Linked DNA regions of Homo sapiens: regions 1, 2, 3, 5, 6 and 7 are each linked to region 4. The links are contacts of gene promoters, found by promoter capture Hi-C in human tissues and cell types (Jung and others, 2019). All regions are on one chromosome and are shown on one strand. Each heading gives the region's core, a stretch centred on a gene start or on the middle of the fragment in contact. The rest is flanking DNA. Distances are from core to core; before and after follow the strand shown.

Region 1 (2,778 bases), core at 42-2,541, 490 kb after region 4:
AAAATAAAAATTACATAGTACTGTAGGAAGACTGTAGGGAGCTGAGTGGGGACTAAGAGAGCATACAAACTTTATTTTACAACTATCCAGTCCACCACCTATCTCACAGATATGGGTGCAATTTCTAAGTCAAACACTATCTCATAACTGACTATATATGGCTTTTCCTGGGGTGAAATACTTTGTTTTTGCTTTCGGCATTCCTTCCCTGACTTGCCTTTTTAGTTGTTGTGGGGACTATGTTTTTAAATCCACGAGATGCAAGGAAACAATGGACGCCTTTCTTCGCTGCTTGTAAAGGTCATATGAGAAACAAGCATGAGCAGAGCAGTTCTGACTAGACGTGCAAGCACACACAGAACGGGACACATTCACCGCGTCGTTTGTCAGCATTAACCCTTTGCTTATACCAAGAAAAGGAGGCTGTGTTTCTATCTTCAGATGGTTTTGGACTGAATTTATGTGAAGTAGAAAACAGGAGTGAATCACTGAAATTTTTGCTTGCTCTGTTAGGGCTTGGGAAGACCCAAAATGGAGGTGGCGTCTGAGTCCAGGAAGAAAGAGGACGTTTATGAAACAAGAGGTCAGGGATTTTCCTCTCAGGTCTCACGACTGTAAGCAGATCAGAGCTGCCAGATGACTATGCAATGCCTCTAGCACCATAAGGAATATTCCCCTCCAACACCAGTTAAAAGAAAAATAATAACAAACTAGAAATAAGCATAGAAAGTACAGATAAGTACAAGATAGTAAAAAATACTTTAACTTTTATTCTTTTTCCGTGTTATTATTTTAATAGTTTTTATAAAAAATTAAGTATCAAATTCTCACAAAGGTTATTTTCTCATCATTTAGTGTTCTCACCTTGTTGGGGGCCTAAACACTTGTGTTGCTTTTGGGTAATCTAGTACTGGCTCAGATCCATCTCCTCAGAAGTCCAAGAAATTACTTGTCAGGAAACTTGGTAGGATGGTCTGCTCACCAACGTAGTTTATTGACTGCTGCTTTTACACTGATCTAAAAATACTCTTTATTTTTGGTTGGAATATGGCTTATTTTGGGAGAAACTGGTGAGGTTAGGTCATCCTCAGATTTCTGCAAAATATTTTATTATAATAGACCTAGCTATTCATGGGAAGATTATAATACCTCATGGATCATCTGGGGAAAATACCTGGCCTTCAAGGCCACTATTTCCAGCAGCAAACATAAAAATCCTTTAATCCATGTCCCACGCTTAGGTTTCTTAATTCATGAAATTCTGCTTATGATTGCCACATATAAATAAGAAAGGACTTGAACATATGTGAGCTATAAGAAACTTTTGTAAAGCAATGCAACTCATGGGTTTAAACAAATACTTTTGGCAGCTTTGTTAAGCATACATGCAAAAAGTGGGTTTGCTTCACCAGTAAGGGATACAGAAAAATCCAAGCTCTCTGACCTACATGTGACACACACAGGATAATAATTAATGATAATAATAAGTTTTAAAAAATCTAGTATGCCTTTCTATCAGGATGGAGCAAGAGATTAATTACACATTGTACATCATAATGTCTGAAAGCCTGAGAACTTGTGCAATCTGAATTAAATTTTATGAAACAAAATGCATGGAATTGATGCTTTCATTTTGAATACACAAGTCTTTTTCTTCTTATATTCTTTCCCCCTCTCTTTTTTCCTTCTCTCCCTCCTTATCTTAGCACCCCTCCTCCCTGCTTCTAAAAGAAGAGAATACTGTTCTCAGGACTCTCTCAGCCTTTCTCAATTGAAAGCAATGATTCTGAGTCACTCCTTTATATTAAGTGAAATACTCTTGCATGAATCTCTAGGGATGAAGTGATTAGCCCAGCAAGAAGCCAGCGGATTCTGGTTGTCCGTGAAAGTGGTAGAAAGAATTAAATACAATTTTGCAAAGATAACACTAAAAGAATGGTATTTTCTTTCAAAACATGTCCTTTTCTGAAACATCAGTGCAGACGTATGTCAAGATAGAAACTGGATCATATTTCTAACAGTTGAAGACTCAGATTTCATCAAACAGGACTGCTTGTTCTCATGCCCAAACTGTATCCTACACTGTCCTGTTGTCTGGACTATAATGGAACATAACATTAACTTCGGACAGTGGAGGTTGTGTTGGTGCCAACCTTGCTAATGAACATGTGGTTTCCATAATAATGTGGCTACTTGCATATTAGGTGGCAAGGTGCCAGGTACGTACTTAATGTTGAGGGGGCAACTGATGTAAAAAGTACCATCTCCTGATATGATTGCATTTCCAAAAATACTCTGCACCTGGACTGAAACTCGGCAAAATGAGGAATGTCAGTCAGCATCAGGAAGTTTAAGGCATTGACAGATAAGGAGGAGCCCTGCAGATTCCAGGCATGCACTCTGTGAGCCTCAAGCATCCATCACAAGGTCTTGATGATAACAAAATGGGTAACGTCACAGTGTGAAAAACAGCCCGACCCAGGAGGGTGGTGGGTGGGGGAAGGTTTAGGACCACTCCCTGCTTCAAGTTCCTGGTGTTCTGGACTCAGGCACTTGAGGGTCTGAAAGCTAGAAGACAGTGAAATGAGTTACAGTTTAATGATATTCCCACTACACTGACAAAATGGATTCAGTTACATAATGGTAGCATTAAATGTTATTAAGAAGGGATCCAAAGTCTTGGGGCCAGACTTTCACAAAATCATGATAAGCTGCGAAAAACAGCTGAAATAGCACATTTATAGGCTTTCCAGTCCTCAATTTGTTGAAGGGGAAAAA
Region 2 (2,700 bases), core at 150-2,649, 430 kb after region 4:
TTAATGGTCCTCAGAAAAGTTTTATTAGGTACATGGTGGACCTGGGGAAACTTGTTGGGACTTGTAGGTTATATAATTCTTTTAGCTTCATTGCTAGGATGCTTGGGACTTTTAACCATGACTTCATTGCTCTTGAATATGGGTTTCATGCATCTGGTTGCTTGGCTGTTTTCAGAAAGTAGGGGTAACAGTCCCATCAATGTATCATCTTTTCCATGATTAGAAAAGAAACCTGAGAATGCTTTCCTAGCAAGTATGTAGACACAGTTTCCTCCAACACCTGTTCTTTCAAGTCATGAGACATTTGAAAATAACCACACAAGTTCCTGCATCTGAGCCTGTCTTTTGAATATCTGTTTGAGCAACATGAAGTTTTGCTAGTGTGAGCTAATGTCAGCATGCACCCTCCTCCCCACTGCCTGTGGATTCAAGTATGGCAAATGCCTGTTGATTTGGAATGACCAGGAGATGGCTTATTTTGGTTCTGTATCATTAATCAACAGATGTGTAAACAGATTTTTAAAAGTAAAATGCCTAATGTCACATTGCTATTACATTAAGGAGCTAGGATTCTGACTCCCTTTTCTAAACATTGATCCACACTGTGATGCTTTGGAAAATTTAAAAATTATGCAACAATGCACTCTCATTGTGAAAAAAATGAGAAAACATAGATGGAAAAAAAGAAATGAACCTCAAAAATTCCACTATTCAGCGATAACCACTGTTAACATTTTCAGGCACTTCTTTTCAGTTTTTTTTCTACAAAATGTAATTGCAAATGCATTTTCAAAGATACTGCTTTACAATTTCCTTTTTCCCTTTAATAATATTTTGGGTTTTGTTCATGTTCTTCTAAATCAGAACATAGATCTGCATTATCATTTTAAAAACTTGCATTGTTTTCCATTCCAGGATGCTAGTACTATTTATTAAATATTTCATTATTTTTTTCTCCTCCTGAGCTTGACTACTGTATTAGTCTGTTCTCTTGTTGCTAATAAAGACATACTCGAGACTGGGTAATTTATAAAGGAAAGAGGTTTAATTGACTCACGGTTCCACACAACTGGGGAAGCCTCACAATCATGGTGGAAGGCAAGGAGGAGCAAGCAGGCAAGAGAGAGCTTATGTGGATGGCAGCAGGCAAGAGAAAGCTTGTGCAGGGGAACTCCTCTTCATAAAACCATCAGATCTCCTGTGACTTATTCACTATCAGGAGAACAGCACAGGAAAGACCTGCCCTCATGATTCAATTACCTCCCACTTGGTCCCTCCCATGACACGTGGGAATTATGGGAGCTACAATTCAAGATGAAATTTGGGTGGGGACACAGCCAAACCATATCAACTACCAATTGATTAACCAAATCCCTCAGTTTTAGAACATTTGTTGAATGTTAATAATATTTCAAGTTTGCGCTATGCACTTTACATATGTTATTTCATTTAGGTAACTTGCTTACAATTTCTTGATATTACTGACTATCCTTATTCTCTGTATACCTTTCTGTAGGATTGTACACTGATTATTTAAGGGCTTTTCATAAATATTGCCAGAGTATGCTCCAGAAAGGTTCTAACAATTTACATTCACAAAGCACAAAGCATCCAGAGTGTTTAATTCTCTACATCCACACAATCAATGGGTATTATCAACTTTTAAAATCTTTTCTAATCTTCTAAGGAAAAACGGTAACTCATTCTTTCACCTTGGAATTCTTTGATCACTAGAGAAGCAGAATTTTGTCTCTTGATGTATTCATATTTTTCTCTAAAATATTTTAAATCCTATATATTTGAACATATTAAAAAGTATATTTTGGCCAGATGTGGTGGCTCATGCCTGTCATCCCAGCACTTTGGGAGGCCGAAGTGGGCAGATCACGAGGTCAGGAGATCAAGACCATCCTGGCTAACACGGTGAAACCCTGTCTCTACTAAAAATACAAAAAATTAGCCAGGTGTGGTGGCGGGTGCCTGTAGTCCCAGCTACTCGGGAGGCTGAGGCAGGAGAATGGTGTGAACTCAGGAGGCAGTGCTTGCAGTGAGCCAAGATCGTGCCACTGCACTCCAGCCTGGGCGACAGAGCAAGACTCCGTCTCAAAAAAAAAAAAAAGTATATTTTAATTATATGTACTCACATGTACATAATTTCATCAATGCATGCCTTTAAAATCATGAAGTTCTCTTTTTATTGCAATTTTTTTTGTTTGCTTTATCCTCTTCTTCTTTCCTTTTACATCATCCTTTCTGTCCCTTAAACAGCCTTTAAAACAACATTGAATGCATCTTTCCATATTTTTATATGTCCTTATATAATCCTTATATAATGTATGACATACATGCATACACATACACTATATTATATACACATGTATGTGTGTATATATATATATATATATATACAGTTTGTTTTATAGATTTTTTTAAAAAGTGGGATCATATATTACATATTTTTCTGCATCCTGCTTTTCTCACTCAACAGTACCTCATTTGAAAACCCTCCAAGTTGTTTGATGGAGTTACAATTTATCATTTTCAGTGACTGAAATTTTTTAAAGGCATGCTCCTATTGATAGGCATTGCTTGTGTTTCTGGTTTTTCTTTTTCTTCTACCACTACTAACAATGCTACAGTTAATATCTTTTAACATATGTCTTTACAAAGAAATTGATTTTATGGAACACACAGGAATGT
Region 3 (2,700 bases), core at 118-2,617, 410 kb after region 4:
CAATTCCCCAATCCTTAGTTCCCATGAAATGTAATGTTCTCTTCCTAAAATGTTTGGCCAAGTTGGGGAAGGTGGGCATGGCAGTGTGAGCCTGTAGCCAGGTTCCAAGGTTCGCTTGAGGTTAGGAGGTTGAGACTAGCCTGGGCAATATGGCAAGACTCTGTATCCACAAAAAAAAAAAAAAAAATTAAAAATTAAATGTTTGGTCTTCTACAACCTGGCTTTCCACTTCTCATTCCCAATCATGCTCTGGGACCACCTCTTTCCTGTGCTGAGGAAGGCTAAGGAAGCACTGTGTTCTTTGAACACAGTGCTCAATCCATCCTGCATTGATGCCTTTGCTATGACAGTTTCCTCTGGTCTCTTCCTCCTCTGAGTCTAGCTTGAGGGCCACTTCCGAACAGCTGCAGAGTTGAGCTGCTCCTCGGTACACTTCACTGTTGAACCAACCTGGGCCACAGGTGTTGCAGTGAGGTTGTCTTCAGAGCCTCACCCTACAGGAAGAAAGTCTGTGAAGTTTCTGGCCCTGGCACAAAGCTGCAGAATCTTGGTGAATCAAACAACTTCTCCAAGCCTCAAAGAAGGCACTTTAAAAATTGTGAAGCACTAACTGAAGGAGAGGAGAGTGTCAAGGATTCCATCCTCCACTTACTAGTAGCTGTCTTATTCATTTGGGACTGCCGACCCCCAGATAGCCTTCATCCCTGGAAATGTGCCTCAGATGCATGTCTCTTCACATGCTTGGGCCTTCCAGAATGTACCAAAAGCCAGGGTTAAACAACGTCAGCTGGATGAACACATTTCAGTGGCAAAGGCTGTTGGAAACTACCACTGTGTTACATTTCACTTTAAACTCCTCACCTTGAAGTGAAGCTAAGTCAGGCCAGAGAATTGAATGGATTTGCCCTTGGCCACAGTATGAGGTGGTGGAGTAAGCGGAAGGAGAATGTGGTATGTGTTGCAGGCTGTCAGTATTTGCCAGACTATGGTCTTTTAAAAAATATATACATACATTGCACAAAGAGTTTGGCATTATAAAAAGAATCTTTTAAGTACCACAGTCTTTTATCCAGAACATTATTAAGAACTTTTTATTAAAAATTAAGATGCCTCAGAAACCATATAAAATTTTAACAGGCTCTACCTTTCCACTTCGCCTTTTCCAGGGCACCTCAGGAGAGGTGGTAGAATTCTCAAACATTTGGAGAGCTCTGCGAGGAACATTCTACTTTGCCAATTTGTCCCTGTATTGGCCCAGGACAGCCATTTACCACCTTGTTTTTGGTTATTTCAGCTGCTGCTAGGCGTTCTCCTTCAAACACACCTGGATTGCTGTGAGGACACTGCCCCACAGGCGGAACACAATGTGTTTCTCAGAGCTGCGGACTGTGGGCTGTAGGCTCCCACAGCCCTGTGTGTGTGAGCCCGTTGGCGCTCACCAAGCTCTTCTGAAGTTCTCTGGTTTCCTCTGACTTCTCTTCTGGATGGGAACTTAGGTACGGGACCAGTCCCATATATATTCATCAGTGCAGGTCCCTTTGTTCAACTCAAATGAGCACCACATGGGGTTCCTTCTTTCTGTGGGCCTCAATCCCTTCTGTGCTTGTCTTTTAAACTAATCTGCTCACATGGGGAGAGTCTTAAAATTTTTCCTGAATGTACCTCTTTTTATCTTCAAGAGACCCTTTGCCATTCTAGGGTGCTGTAATTTGACAAATAAATCCTTGTCCCACTTTCCCCTTCCCTGGTTTCTCACCTAGATCCTGGCCTTTCGTTCACCTGCCGTCTTTCAGAGTGGAGAGTACTCACCCTTCAGTCTCCTATTCACTGCAGTAACCCAAATTCCCTTCTCTTGGGTGGTCTCCTTTATCACTTTCGTATTTCTCTAATTCTAATAGCAAGACTTCAGGCCCAGCTTGAGAAAGCATGCATTTTCCTCCTTCATGTTCGTACAGTCCATTGGACATCCTTACCATCAGCTCTTGTTGGTTGAAAGATCTGAAAACTTTCAACTGGCCATTTCCTGAGGTTCTCTTTTTTGTTCATGGAGAAGCAACTGGAGCCCTTCAGTCTGGGCACAGTCAGGAATTTTCTGGATTGCTGCCATTATTCTTTTATTCAGTAAACATTTGCTGAGTCCCTTCCATATAAAAGTCAGTATCCCAGGGGCTGGGGATACAAGAACATGACCAAGGCCCTGCCTAAAGGGGCTTGCAGGCTGGTGCGGGAGACACAGTGACACATGTTGCCTTCTATTGGATACCAGTGCAATAGGTTGGAGTGGGAGCAGGATGTATGGGATGCTCTGCCCCATGCCAGAGGATGGACCACCTCATTCAGCAAGGGAAGGGGTGTCAGGGAAAGCTGTCACCAAAAAGCCCTAGTTGAACTGAGCTGCGAATCACAATGAGTCATTCGCCAGGCAAAGTCAGCCAGGGCATTCCTGGTGGAGGCAGCCACACAGGCAAAGGTTCAGAAGTGTGCAAGGGGGTTGACTATGTCCATTCTTTTTATGAATGTTGTCAAAGCTTCAGTAATCTTGCCCCTGTGCGTTTCTTGTCTGCCCTGCAGGCAGAATGAACTGTGAGTGGGTTATCAGGAAAGGTCAAAGACTGCATGGCTGGTGTGAGGGGCTGTGGGGCTGGGCCAGGGAAGCGGGAGGGAAGGGTGAGTCACTTGAAAGTTTTGTGTGCTGAGACA
Region 4 (2,749 bases), core at 73-2,572:
TTTACGGGGGTTGGGCTAAGCATTATTAGTCAACGGGCTGTACTGCTATTTATGGTAGGTTTTGAATACCGTTTCTCCAAAATAACCTATTTCCTCCCCAAACCCAAACTTCCTCAACTGGGATCGAACTCAATCCTACAGCGTGTTCTGAGATTCTATACTCGCCTCACTTCTCCCAAGATCGTAAATTCTGGAGGAGCCATTCCTTCATCATCCATGTTTGCATCCTTCACACCGTTCACTGGTTAAGTGCTTAGTACGTTTGCTATTGGGCAAGGTCCTCAAACGGGAGGTGGACGTCAGAATAGTCAGGTTATCGACTGAGTAACTGTTAGTGGTGGATAATTTAAAGCCAATTTGAAAGTTCATCCTTTCCCCCAAAGGCAAAAACAGGCGTTCCTTTTCTTAAAAGAGAATTTTAAATAGAATTGGGTCTCTGGTGTCCTGCCTAAAGCCCGCAAAGAAAGAGGGTACGGTTGGGGGTGGGGGTGATGGGGGATACTGAACCCTTTTCTGGTTGCGCCTTGCCCGGAGCCCCCGGCTAGAGCCCTGGCGCTCCTGGCGCGCTCCCAACGCGAATCGGTGACTCCGCAGGCCGCGCAGTGCGGAGGTGCCCGTCCCACCCTCCCCCTTGTGGGGTGCGGGGCTCCATTTCCCCAAGCCGCTGGGGTCGGCTTCTGGTCTTGAGATGCGGATGAAGTGGTGTGAAGGGTTGGGCTTTTTTTTTTGTTCCTAAAAATGCAACGAACAAAAAAAAAAGTACAACAATCCAAACCCAACCATCTTAATTGCACGGCAGCTTAACTGGGAGACTTTCTTCCCGGGCGGCCCCACCCGGGACCGCGCCGCTTCAGTCGAGCCCACCGTCTGGGCAAACGGCGTCCACTTCCCGGAGCCGCTGCCCAGCCTCTGCGGGGGGGCTTTGGGCGGGCGCAGGACTCTGGAAGGGAGAAAAGCCCGCAGCCCGGCCCTCCCCGTCCCAGGCGGCCCGCGCGGGTGGACGGCGGGAGCAGGCGGCGGTTGGAGACGCCGGAAGGAACGCGGTCTCACCACCCGGCTCCCTCCGCCAAGGCGAGGCGCGGCCGGGGAGGCGGGACACAGGCGAAGCGGGACGGGGAGGCGGGGCCGGAGGTGCAGGCGGAGGCGGGCGACGGGGAAGGGAGGGGGAGGGGGAGGGGAAAGGGAGGGGGAGGGGGAGGGGAAAGGGAGGGGGAGGGGGGAAGGGACGGGAGGGGAGGGGGAAGGGACGGGAGGGGAGGGGGAAGGGACGGGAGGGGAAGGGGAAGCGGGAGAGGGAAGGGGGCGGAGCTAGCCGGAGCCGCGAGTCCATTTTGGGGCTGTGCTTGGCGCGTACCGTGCGGTCCCTGTAGTTGGAGGACGGGCGGTCGCGCGGCCTTTCCCACTAGCCGGAGGTCGGAGATAAGTACCCGCCGCCCGGCTCCTCTCGGGAAAGCGGGGTGGTCCTCGAACCTTCAGCGAGGGTGGGGAGTTGCCCAGGTCAGCAGGGATCTGCGTGGGTTGGGGGGGCTGGCGAAGGCCGTCTGAGCTCCAGTCCGGCAGCGCGGCAGAAACCAGCGGGGCACTGTCATGGGCCTGGGGAGGAGCGGCCTGCGGAGGGCGCCGGGGCAGTGTGTCTGTGGTCCAGAAAACCTGCTCCGTCCGGAGCCTTCCTGGCCCCGCTACCAGCGTCTCCACATCCCCTAGAAAAGAAAAGACGGGTGTGGGCCTTAGGTTACAGCGCGCCGCCAGCGTTTGGTTGCATGGCGCCGGGGGAGGGCGCCCTAACCGAGAAGCTGCTTAATACAAAGAGCTCCAGGCTCCTGGCGGTTCACCAGGTCTAAACAGCCGGGCTTTATTTGTGGGGGCGATTGAAAAAATTGAGGGTCAAGATTGGGGTGCTGTGCAAATAAATGCGTTAATACTGTTCTTTTTCTTCTTTCTTTGCAGTAGCCTCTAGTTCGTTAGTCAAAACGTGAAAAAAAAGACCTGCTTTGCCCTGGGAAATAGTAACCCTGCCAAATACATCAGCTTGTAGGAGACAGAGGTAAACTACAATAATTTTCCTGTGTTATCTTTTTTTTTTAAACACCCAATTTCAATAGGCCCTAGAACCTTCCAAAATGGAACTGTGTGTAGAATACGTATGTTCCCATCCACTTTCATTGGTGGTCTTTGTTCTTTGCATATTTTGTTAAAACTTAGAAAAACAGAATTCACGTTTAGCAATTATTTATGTGGTATTTATCTTAAATATAGCCAAACATTCATATTACAAAGGAAGAAAGGGGCTTCCACACTTTTTTCCTACTTTTTTTTCCCTTCTCCTATGCTTAGTGAATTGTCAGGCTGCTAGGGCTTGTAGAACAGGGCTTGAGTTTTCTAGAGACCTTTATATAATAGGCACTTTAAAAGCAGAATTTCATTTACATAGGCACTCCTTCTAGTAGAACTTGATGGAGCTGTTAACCGGCTATACTTCCTTCTTGCACAATGGGAGCGTCCCTATCCCTCCCTAAAAATACGTTTTTTTTCCTTTCTCCCAGCTGGCTTACTAAACCTCCCTGGGAAGTCCTTTCCTAAAACCGGGCTGTTCTGTTCATTCTATACATTTATGATAGGTTATCTGGCCTTAATTCTGTCACAGCTTTTGTTCAGATATGCTCATTTTCATGACACTGCTTTGTACCTGATACCTTATGTAATATTTGTTTTGCCTTGCCTTGAAATCACAGTTCAAGTTTAGAACCTT
Region 5 (2,700 bases), core at 135-2,634, 510 kb after region 4:
GGTGTCACATCGATCTCTCTACTCTTTGCTTGGAGAATTCAATTGTTTACCTCTATATCCTGCATTTTCAAGAATGATAAGAAGAAGAAGTCACATTTTGATTGTCCCTTTCCAAGGGAGGGAAACCCCAGGGATCTAAAGCCCTATTTAGCTCCTTGGGGAACGGGAAGGGATGGGGGGATACATTCTTTAAAATTCTTTCTTATTCTGTTAAGCCAGTAAGAAATTAGGATTGCTTATTTGTTAACCTGGTCTCCTTGCTACAGTTTTTGGGAGACATGTTTGCCAATAATTTAAGTTCTAAAATAATGCCCTTAAATGAACAAAAAAATTGTGTTTATTAAATACAAACCAACTAGTGAACAATTGAGGCTTAGGTGAGAATTGGGTCAATGGAATGAGAAGTATATTTTTTCTCATTTCTTTTAGTGTGAAAATAAGGTCATTCTTTGCATTATAAATAGTACATGTTTATTATAGGTAATATCAATAATGTCCGTACTATCACTATTCAAAGATACTAATATTTTAGTGTCTTTTCATCCTGTCTTTTTCCAGGTGTAGTTATTATTCAATTTATAATTTGGCATCCTACCATATATATAATTTAACATCTACTCTTTTAACGTAAGTATTTCTTAATATTATCATAAATTCTTGTATAACATTCTTTTTAATGACTCCATAATATTCTACCAAGTATATATATATTACTACATATAATAGTATTACATATATAATAGTTTAACTATCTTACTATTATCAGAAAAATAATATATTTACTATAAAACTTTTTTTAATACTTTAAGTGTTAGGGTACATGTGCACAACGTGCAGGTTAGTTACATATGTATACATGTGCCATGTTGGTGTGCTGCACCCATTAACTCGTCATTTAACATTAGGTATATCGTCTCATGCTATCCCTCCCCCCCTCCCCCCACTCCACAACAGGCCCTGGTGTGTGATGTTCCCCTTCCTGTGTCCATGTGTTCTCATTGTTCAATTCCCACCTATGAGTGAGAACATGTGGTGTTTGGTTTTTTGTCCTTGCCATAGTTTGCTGAGAATGATGGTTTCCAGCTTCATCCATGTCCCTACACAGGACATGAACTCATCCTTTTTTATGGCTGCATAGTATTCCATGGTGTATATATGCCACATTTTCTTAATCCAGTCTAACATTGTTGGACATTTGGCATGGTTCCAAGTCTTTGCTATTGTGAATAGCACCACAATAAACATACATGTGCATGTGTCTTTATAGCAGCATGATTTATAATCCTTTGGGTATATACCCAGTAATGGGATTGCTGGGTCAAATGGTATTTCTAGTCCTAGATCCCTGAGGAATCGCCACACTGACTTCCACAATGGTTGAACTAGTTTACAGTCCCACCAACAGTGTAAAAGTGTTCCTATTTTCCACATCCTCTCCAGCACCTGTTGTTTCCTGACTTTTTAATGATCGCCATTCTAACTGGTGTGAGATGGTATCTCACTGTGGTTTTGATTTGCATTTCTCTGATGGCCAGTGATGATGAACATTTTTTCATGTGTCTTTGGGCTGCGTAAAAGTCTTCTTTTGAGAAGTGTCTGTTCATATCCTTCGTCCACTTTTTGATGGGGTTGTTTGTTTTTTTCTTGTAAATTTGTTTGAGTTCATTGTAGATTCTGGATATTAGCCCTTTGTCAGATGAGTAGATTGCAAAAATTTTCTCCCATTCTGTAGGTTGCCTATTCACTCTGATGGTAGTTTCTTTTGCTGTGCAGAAGCTCTTTAGTTTAATTAGATCCCATTTGTCAATTTTGGCTTTTGCTGCCATTGCTTTTGGTGTTTTAGACATGAAGTCCTTGCCCATGTCTATGTCCTGAATGGTATTGCCTAGGTTTTCTTCTAGGGCTTTTATGGTTTTATGTCTAACATTTAAGTCTTTAATCCATCTTGAATTAATTTTTGTATAAAGTGTAAGGAAGGGATCCAGTTTCAGCTTTCTACATATGGCTGGCCAGTTTTCCCAGCACCATTTATTAAATAGGGAATCATATCCCCATTTCTTGCTTTTGTCAGGTTTGTCAAAGATCAGATGGTTGTAGATATGTGGCATTATTTCCGAGGGCTCTGTTCTGTTCCATTGGTCTAGATCTCTGTTTTGGTACCAGTACCATGCTGTTTTGGTTACTGTATCCTTGTAGTATAGTTTGAAGTCAGGTATCGTGATGCCTCCAGCTTTGTTCTTTTGGCTTAGGATTGACTTGGCAATGCGGGCTCTTTTTTGGTTCCATATGAACTTTAAAGTAGCTTTTTCCAATTCTGTGAAGAAAGTCATTGGTAGCTTGATGGGGATGGCATTGAATCTATAAATTACCTTGGGCAGTATGGCCATTTTCACGATATTGATTCTTCCTACCCATGAGCATGGAAGGTTCTTCCATTTGTTTGTATCCTGTTTTATTTCATTGAGCAGTGATTTGTTGTTCTCCTTGAAGAGGTCCTTCACATCCCTTGTAAGTTGGATTCCTAGGTATTTTATTCTCTTTGAAGCAATTGTGAATGGGAGTTCACTCATGATTTGGCTCTCTGTTTGTCTGTTATTGGTGTATAAGAATGCTTGTGATTTTTGCACATTGATTTTGTATCCTGAGACTTTGCTGAAGTTGCTTATCAGCTTAAGGAGATTTTGGGCTGAGATGATGGGG
Region 6 (2,790 bases), core at 211-2,710, 410 kb before region 4:
AAAAAAAAGAGGGGGACTGTTCTAGATTAAAAGAGACTAAAGAAACATGAAATTCAAATGCAGTGCATGAACCTTAGGTAGAATCCTGGTTCCAATTTTATTTTTTAAGAGATGGGGGTCTCACTCTGTCACCCAGCCTGGAGTGCAGTGGCACCATCACAGCCCACTGCAGCCTCAAACTCCTGGGCTCAAAAGATCCTCTGGCCTTGGCCTCCTAAAAGGTTGGGATTACAGGTGTGAGTCACCACGCCCAGCCCCTTGGTTCCAATTTTTTTAAGCTATAAATAATATTTTGTAAAGAATCAGAAATTTAATATGGACTGGATATTAGATAGTATTAGGAGATTACTGGGTTTTTTAGATGTGGTAATAGTAATATTAAGAACATCCTGGCTGGGCATGGTGGCTTATGCCTGTAATCCCAGCCCTTTGGGAGGCTAAGGCGGGAGGATTGCTTGAGCCCAGGAGTCTGAGACTAGCCTGGGCAACATGACGAAACCCTATCTCTACCAAAAATTAGCCAGGCAAGATGGCACACAGCTGTGATCCCAGCTACTCGGGAAGCTGTGGTGGGAGGATTGCTTGAGTCCAGGAGGTCAAGGCTGCAGTGAGCTATGATTGCACCACTGCACTCCAGTCTGGGCAACAGAGCAAGACCTTGTCTCAAAAAACAAAAAAACAAACAAACAAAACAAAAAAACAAAGAAAGAATGTCCCTATTTTTATGAGATGTGTACCAGAATAATTAAGGACAGAGTGTAATGAGGTCTGCAAATGGTTCACACAAAAAATTAATACTGTATATATCCATGTCCATAAAGAAAGAGAAAATATGGCAAAATGTTTGCAATTGTTAAATCGAGGAGCTATTATTTATACTTTTATTTAAACTTTGAAATTTTCTTTCTTTTTTTTTTTTTTTTTTTGATATGGCGTCTCGCTCTCTTGCCCAGGTTGGACTGCAGTGGCGTGATCTCAGCTCACTGCAACCTCCACCTCTGAGGTTCAAGTGACTCTCATGCCTCAGCCTCCCCAGTAGCTAGGATTACAGGTGTGCACCATCACGTCTGGCTAATTTTTGTATTTTTAGTAGAGATGGGGTTTCACTATGTGTGATCCACCCACTTTGACCTCCCAAAGTGCTGGGATTACAGATGAGAGCCACCACGTCCGGCTAAACTTTGAAATTTTCATAGCAAAATGTTGTAAGGTGGGATGAGATGTGCCCTTTATATTTCAAACTAAGAAAGCAGGATATTTCAGTAATTTATTTATTCATAAAGATCTTTTGAATGCCTGCCATGTGCTAGGCACTGTAATAAGGTCTGGGTGTACCTTGGTGATTAAAACAGTAATGTTCTCTTTTATAAATGTTATGCTGCATTACCCAATCTCTCCTTTAAGACTGAAGGATTTATTCCCCCAGCTTTTGGGAAGCTTGTATGCTGACAGCCTTCTTCAGTGACTGTCTTGCTAAAGAAAGCTGCCTTATTCAAGGTCCAGTCACCTTATAGGGGCAGCCTGCAACAAATGACTAGTCGCGCCAGGCCTAATCTTTAATTTCAATGCAATTACCATTTTTTCTTGTTTTCAAAACTTAACAAAATTATTCTAATGTTTATATGTGAGAAGAGCCAGGAAATACCAAAAAAGAATTCTAGAAAAGAAGAGTGATGGCTATGAAGAGACAGAGTAGGAGCAATTTACTAATCCATCATAGTGATTTCAAGAGTTGAGTATTGACTGCTGCCTTCTAAGAACTTAAAAGGCCCTCTCCGCTCTCCCCTCTCCCCTCTCCCCTCTCCCCTCTCCCCACGGTCTCCCTCTCATGCGGAGCCGGAGCTGGACTGTACTGCTGCCATCTCGGCTCACTGCAACCTCCCTGCCTGATTCTCCTGCCTCAGTCTGCCGAATGCCTGCGATTGCAGGCACGCGCCGCCACGCCTGACTGGTTTTGGTGGAGACGGGGTTTCGCTGTGTTGGCCGGGCCGGTCTCCAGCCCCTAACCGCGAGTGATCCGCCAACCTCGGCCTCCCGAGGTGCCGGGATTGCAGACGGAGTCTCGTTCACTCAGTGCTCAATGGTGCCCAGGCTGGAGTGCAGTGGCGTGATCTCGGCTCACTACAACCTACACCTCCCAGCCGCCTGCCTTGGCCTCCCAAAGTGCCGAGATTGCAGCCTCTGCCCGGCCGCCACCCTGTCTGGGAAGTGAGGAGTGTCTCTGCCTGGCCGCCCATCGTCTGGGCTGTGAGGAGCCCCTCTGCCTGGCTGCCCAGTCTGGAAAGTGAGGAGCGTCTCCGCCCGGCCGCCATCCCATCTAGGAAGTGAGGAGCGCCTCTTCCCAGCCGCCATCACATCTAGGAAGTGAGGAGCGTCTCTGCCCGGCCGCCCATCGTCTGAGATGTGGGGAGCGCCTCTGCCCCGCCGCCCCATCTGGGATGTGAGGAGCGCCTCTGCCCGGCCGAGACCCCGTCTGGGAGGTGAGGAGCGTCTCTGCCCGGCCGCCCCGTCTGAGAAGTGAGGAGACCCTCTGCCTGGCAACCACCCCGTCTGAGAAGTGAGGAGCCCCTCCGCCCGGCAGCTGCCCCGTCTGAGAAGTGAGGAGCCTCTCCGCCCGGCAGCCACCCCATCTGGGAAGTGAGGAGCGTCTCCGCCCGGCAGCCACCCCGTCCGGAAGGGAGGTGGGGGGGGTCAGCCCCCCGCCCGGCCAGCCGCCCCATCTGGGAGGGAGGTGGGGGGTCAGCCCCCCCGCCCGGCCAGCCGTGCCGTCCGGGAGGGAGGTGGGGGGGT
Region 7 (2,741 bases), core at 234-2,733, 400 kb after region 4:
CATCAATCAATAAAAAATTCAGAACCCTGATTATAAATGTTTTCACAGTTGGTCAGCTAAGAGTTTCTTGTAGATTGCTATGCATTTAGCATTTTGCTGGGTTTTTTGTTATCAGTGCCCACTCTGAGTGGGTGGAGCCCCCTTTCCTGGTGGGTTATGGACTCCCTTATATCAGCAGATGAATAGAGGTTAAGAAGCATCACGAGTCAGCTTTATTTAGTTCTTATCTGGACATGGACAAGGTTACAGTCTACCCAGATATGCAGAGAGTATTCAGTGCTACATACTCAAGCTCCTTTCCTGGCTAAATTTCTGTTGGTTGCTCCCATTCCTATAACTGGAACATCACCTGTTAATTTCTTAATGTATGTGCACACAACAGATTCTTACTATGTATTCTCTGTCTAGCCAGGAGCATTACAACTGCTTCCACCACACCACCTCATTTGGCTATCTGAGTCTTCGGGTTAATTTCTGAGCAATTAGTGCTGTTGTGGTCATTGGGTTTTGTTTTGTTTTGTTTTGTTTTGTTTTTAGGCTCAATCTTATCAGATTGGATGCCTCTTGCTTTGAACCCACACTTTGTTGCCTCACCCTTATGACTCCTCTATTTCCCTCTTCATCCTTTTATTAAACAAAACTTATTAACTCTGTAATCAGACCAGCAGCATTGTGCAATAGGCACAAATGTTAGGTGCCTTACACATGCAATTTTGTGCCCAACTTTGGCAGCAGTTGTTTTTATTCTGTCTTCACAGATGAGGAAATGGAGGCCCAGTGAAGACACAGGAGAAGTATTAGTGACCTGCTACTTTTAGATATAATCTGTATAGAGAAATAATATGGATATAAAAGAAGTTGCTAAAAATAATCGTAATATCTGTATATTGTAAACCAGCAGTCCCCAATGTTTTTGGCACCGAGGACAGGTTTTGTGGAAGACAATTCTTCCACAGACCAGGGGCGGTCGGGGGATGGTTTCAGGATGATTCAAGCACATTATATTAATTTTGCAATTTATTTCTATTATTATTACATTGTAATATGTAATGAAATAATTTTACAACTCACCATAATGTAGAATCAGTGGAAGCCCTGAGCTTGTTTTCCTACAAGCTTATATGGGACTCCATATGGGGTTGATGGGAGACAGTGACAGATCATCAGGCAGGCATTAGATTCTAATAAGGAGCATGCAACCTAGATTCCTCCCATGTGCAGTTCACAATAGGGTTTGCGTTCTTGTGAGGCTCCAGTGCCGCCGCTGATCTGACAGGAGGCGGAGCTCAGGCAGTAATGTGAGCAGTGGGGAGCAGCTGTGAATATGATGAAGCTTCCCTTGCTCGCCCACTGCTCACCTCCTGCTGTGTGGCTTGGTTCCTAACAGGCCATGAACCAGTATTGGTCCACGTGGCCCAGGGGCTGGGGATCCCTGTTGTAAACTACTTAACATTGCTAAGAAAAACTAAAGAAGATATAAATAAATGGAACAATATTCTGAATTCTTGGAATGAAAGAATCAATATTGTTAGTTGTCTCCAAATTGATGTATAAATTCAAAGCATTCCCAGTGAAAATCCCAGAAGGCTTTTTTTTTCTTTTATCTTTTTTTTTTTTTTTGGTAGAAGTTGATAAGATGATTCTAAAATTTATATAGAAATGCAAAGGACTTAGAATAGCCAAGATAATTTTGAAAAACAACAAAGTTGGGGGACTCATACTACCTAATTTTGAGACATAAAACTATTGTAATCAAGGTAGTGTGGTAATGGTATCAAGATGGACAATATATAAGTAGATATAATGGAAACATACATCTCATGTATCTGGTGAATTGACTTTTATAAAGGTTTAAAGGCACTTCAACAGAGAAAGCATAGTCTTCTTAACAATTGATCATCCATTCATAAAAACAGGAAAAAAAAAAAGCAGAAAACTCCTTTGATTCAAACCTTGCAACATATCCAAATCCAAAAGAGATCATAGGCCTACTTTCAAGATCTAAAAATATAAAATTTCTAGAAGGAAACAGAAGAGAACATCTTTGTGACAAGGTATTAGGAAAAATGTTTATAAATCCCATACCAAAAGAATAAACCATAAAAGAAAAAAATATAAATTGGACTTCATTCAAATTAAGAACCTCTATTCTTTGCAAGAAACTTAAGAAAATGAAGAATATCCACCTATTGGAAGAAAATATTTTCAAATCACATATCTAATAAGACTTGCATACAGAATATATAAAGAATTCCCTTAACATAGTAATAAGAGAACAAATAAACCAGTAAAATAGGGCAAAATATTAGAACAGGTACTTTACCATAAAGGACATATGGATGGCAGATAAATGCATTAAAAATGTTCAATATCATTATTCCTTAGGGGCAGATTAAAACCACACTGAGATAGCACTACACATCTGTTAGAATAAAGACTGACCATAGCAAGTCGAGGGCAGGAAGCAACTGGAACTCTCATGTACTGCTGATGGATGTGTAAAATGGTACAATCATTCTAGAAAATAGCTAGTTTCTTTAAAAGCTAAACATATAGATAGCAAATAACCCAGTCATTTTACAGGTATTTACTGAAGAGCAATCAAAGTATGGGTCTATACAAGGACTGAACATGATTATTCATAGAAGCTTTATTTTAATAGTCAAAAACTAGAAACAACCCATATGTCCATCAGTGTCCATCAATAGATGAATGGATAAATAAACGGTGGTATAGCTATA

What was found. The method cuts DNA at HindIII sites, captures the fragments that hold promoters and counts their contacts. A contact is called where the count stands out against the background at its distance.
Region 1: a contact is called between a fragment that was not itself captured here and the fragment with the promoter of TRIM13 in region 4, in 1 of the 25 tissues and cell types used here (dorsolateral prefrontal cortex).
Region 2: a fragment that was not itself captured here is called in contact with the fragment with the promoter of TRIM13 in region 4 in 1 of the 25 tissues and cell types used here (adrenal gland).
Region 3: a fragment that was not itself captured here is called in contact with the fragment with the promoter of TRIM13 in region 4 in 2 of the 25 tissues and cell types used here (IMR-90 fibroblasts and mesenchymal stem cells).
Region 5: a contact is called between a fragment that was not itself captured here and the fragment with the promoter of TRIM13 in region 4, in 1 of the 25 tissues and cell types used here (lymphoblastoid cells).
Region 6: a fragment that was not itself captured here is called in contact with the fragment with the promoter of TRIM13 in region 4 in 1 of the 25 tissues and cell types used here (IMR-90 fibroblasts).
Region 7: a contact is called between a fragment that was not itself captured here and the fragment with the promoter of TRIM13 in region 4, in 3 of the 25 tissues and cell types used here (dorsolateral prefrontal cortex, hippocampus and mesenchymal stem cells).

The regions. Positions count from the first base shown.
Region 1 is chr13:50,484,339-50,487,116 of GRCh38, forward strand. The region is part of intron 4 of DLEU1 (deleted in lymphocytic leukemia 1); the gene reads left to right. Among named protein-coding and RNA genes, the nearest start is that of DLEU1-AS1, 42 kb to the right of the region's middle. The HindIII fragment of the contact is 3,390 bases long and covers 1-2,778 here.
Region 2 is chr13:50,428,382-50,431,081 of GRCh38, forward strand. All of the region lies in intron 3 of DLEU1 (deleted in lymphocytic leukemia 1), which reads left to right. Among named protein-coding and RNA genes, the nearest start is that of DLEU1-AS1, 98 kb to the right of the region's middle. The HindIII fragment of the contact is 5,811 bases long and covers 1-2,700 here.
Region 3 is chr13:50,408,953-50,411,652 of GRCh38, forward strand. All of the region lies in intron 3 of DLEU1 (deleted in lymphocytic leukemia 1), which reads left to right. Among named protein-coding and RNA genes, the nearest start is that of DLEU1-AS1, 120 kb to the right of the region's middle. The HindIII fragment of the contact is 4,437 bases long and covers 1-2,700 here.
Region 4 is chr13:49,995,720-49,998,468 of GRCh38, forward strand. TRIM13 (tripartite motif containing 13) reads left to right here and starts at 1,323. Exons shown (of 2, transcript NM_213590.3): 1 at 1,323-2,044. DLEU2 (deleted in lymphocytic leukemia 2) reads right to left here. Exons shown (of 14, transcript NR_152566.1): 11 at 1,355-1,700. It overlaps MIR3613 (microRNA 3613), which reads right to left and starts at 782; the gene lies at 696-782. RefSeq lists silencers at 290-339, 930-1,059 and an enhancer at 620-749. The HindIII fragment of the contact is 11,924 bases long and covers 1-2,749 here.
Region 5 is chr13:50,502,254-50,504,953 of GRCh38, forward strand. All of the region lies in intron 5 of DLEU1 (deleted in lymphocytic leukemia 1), which reads left to right. Among named protein-coding and RNA genes, the nearest start is that of DLEU1-AS1, 24 kb to the right of the region's middle. The HindIII fragment of the contact is 5,430 bases long and covers 1-2,700 here.
Region 6 is chr13:49,590,367-49,593,156 of GRCh38, forward strand. No RefSeq gene overlaps it. Among named protein-coding and RNA genes, the nearest start is that of RCBTB1, 6.2 kb to the left of the region's middle. The HindIII fragment of the contact is 3,491 bases long and covers 1-2,790 here.
Region 7 is chr13:50,392,519-50,395,259 of GRCh38, forward strand. All of the region lies in intron 3 of DLEU1 (deleted in lymphocytic leukemia 1), which reads left to right. Among named protein-coding and RNA genes, the nearest start is that of DLEU1-AS1, 130 kb to the right of the region's middle. The HindIII fragment of the contact is 4,618 bases long and covers 1-2,741 here.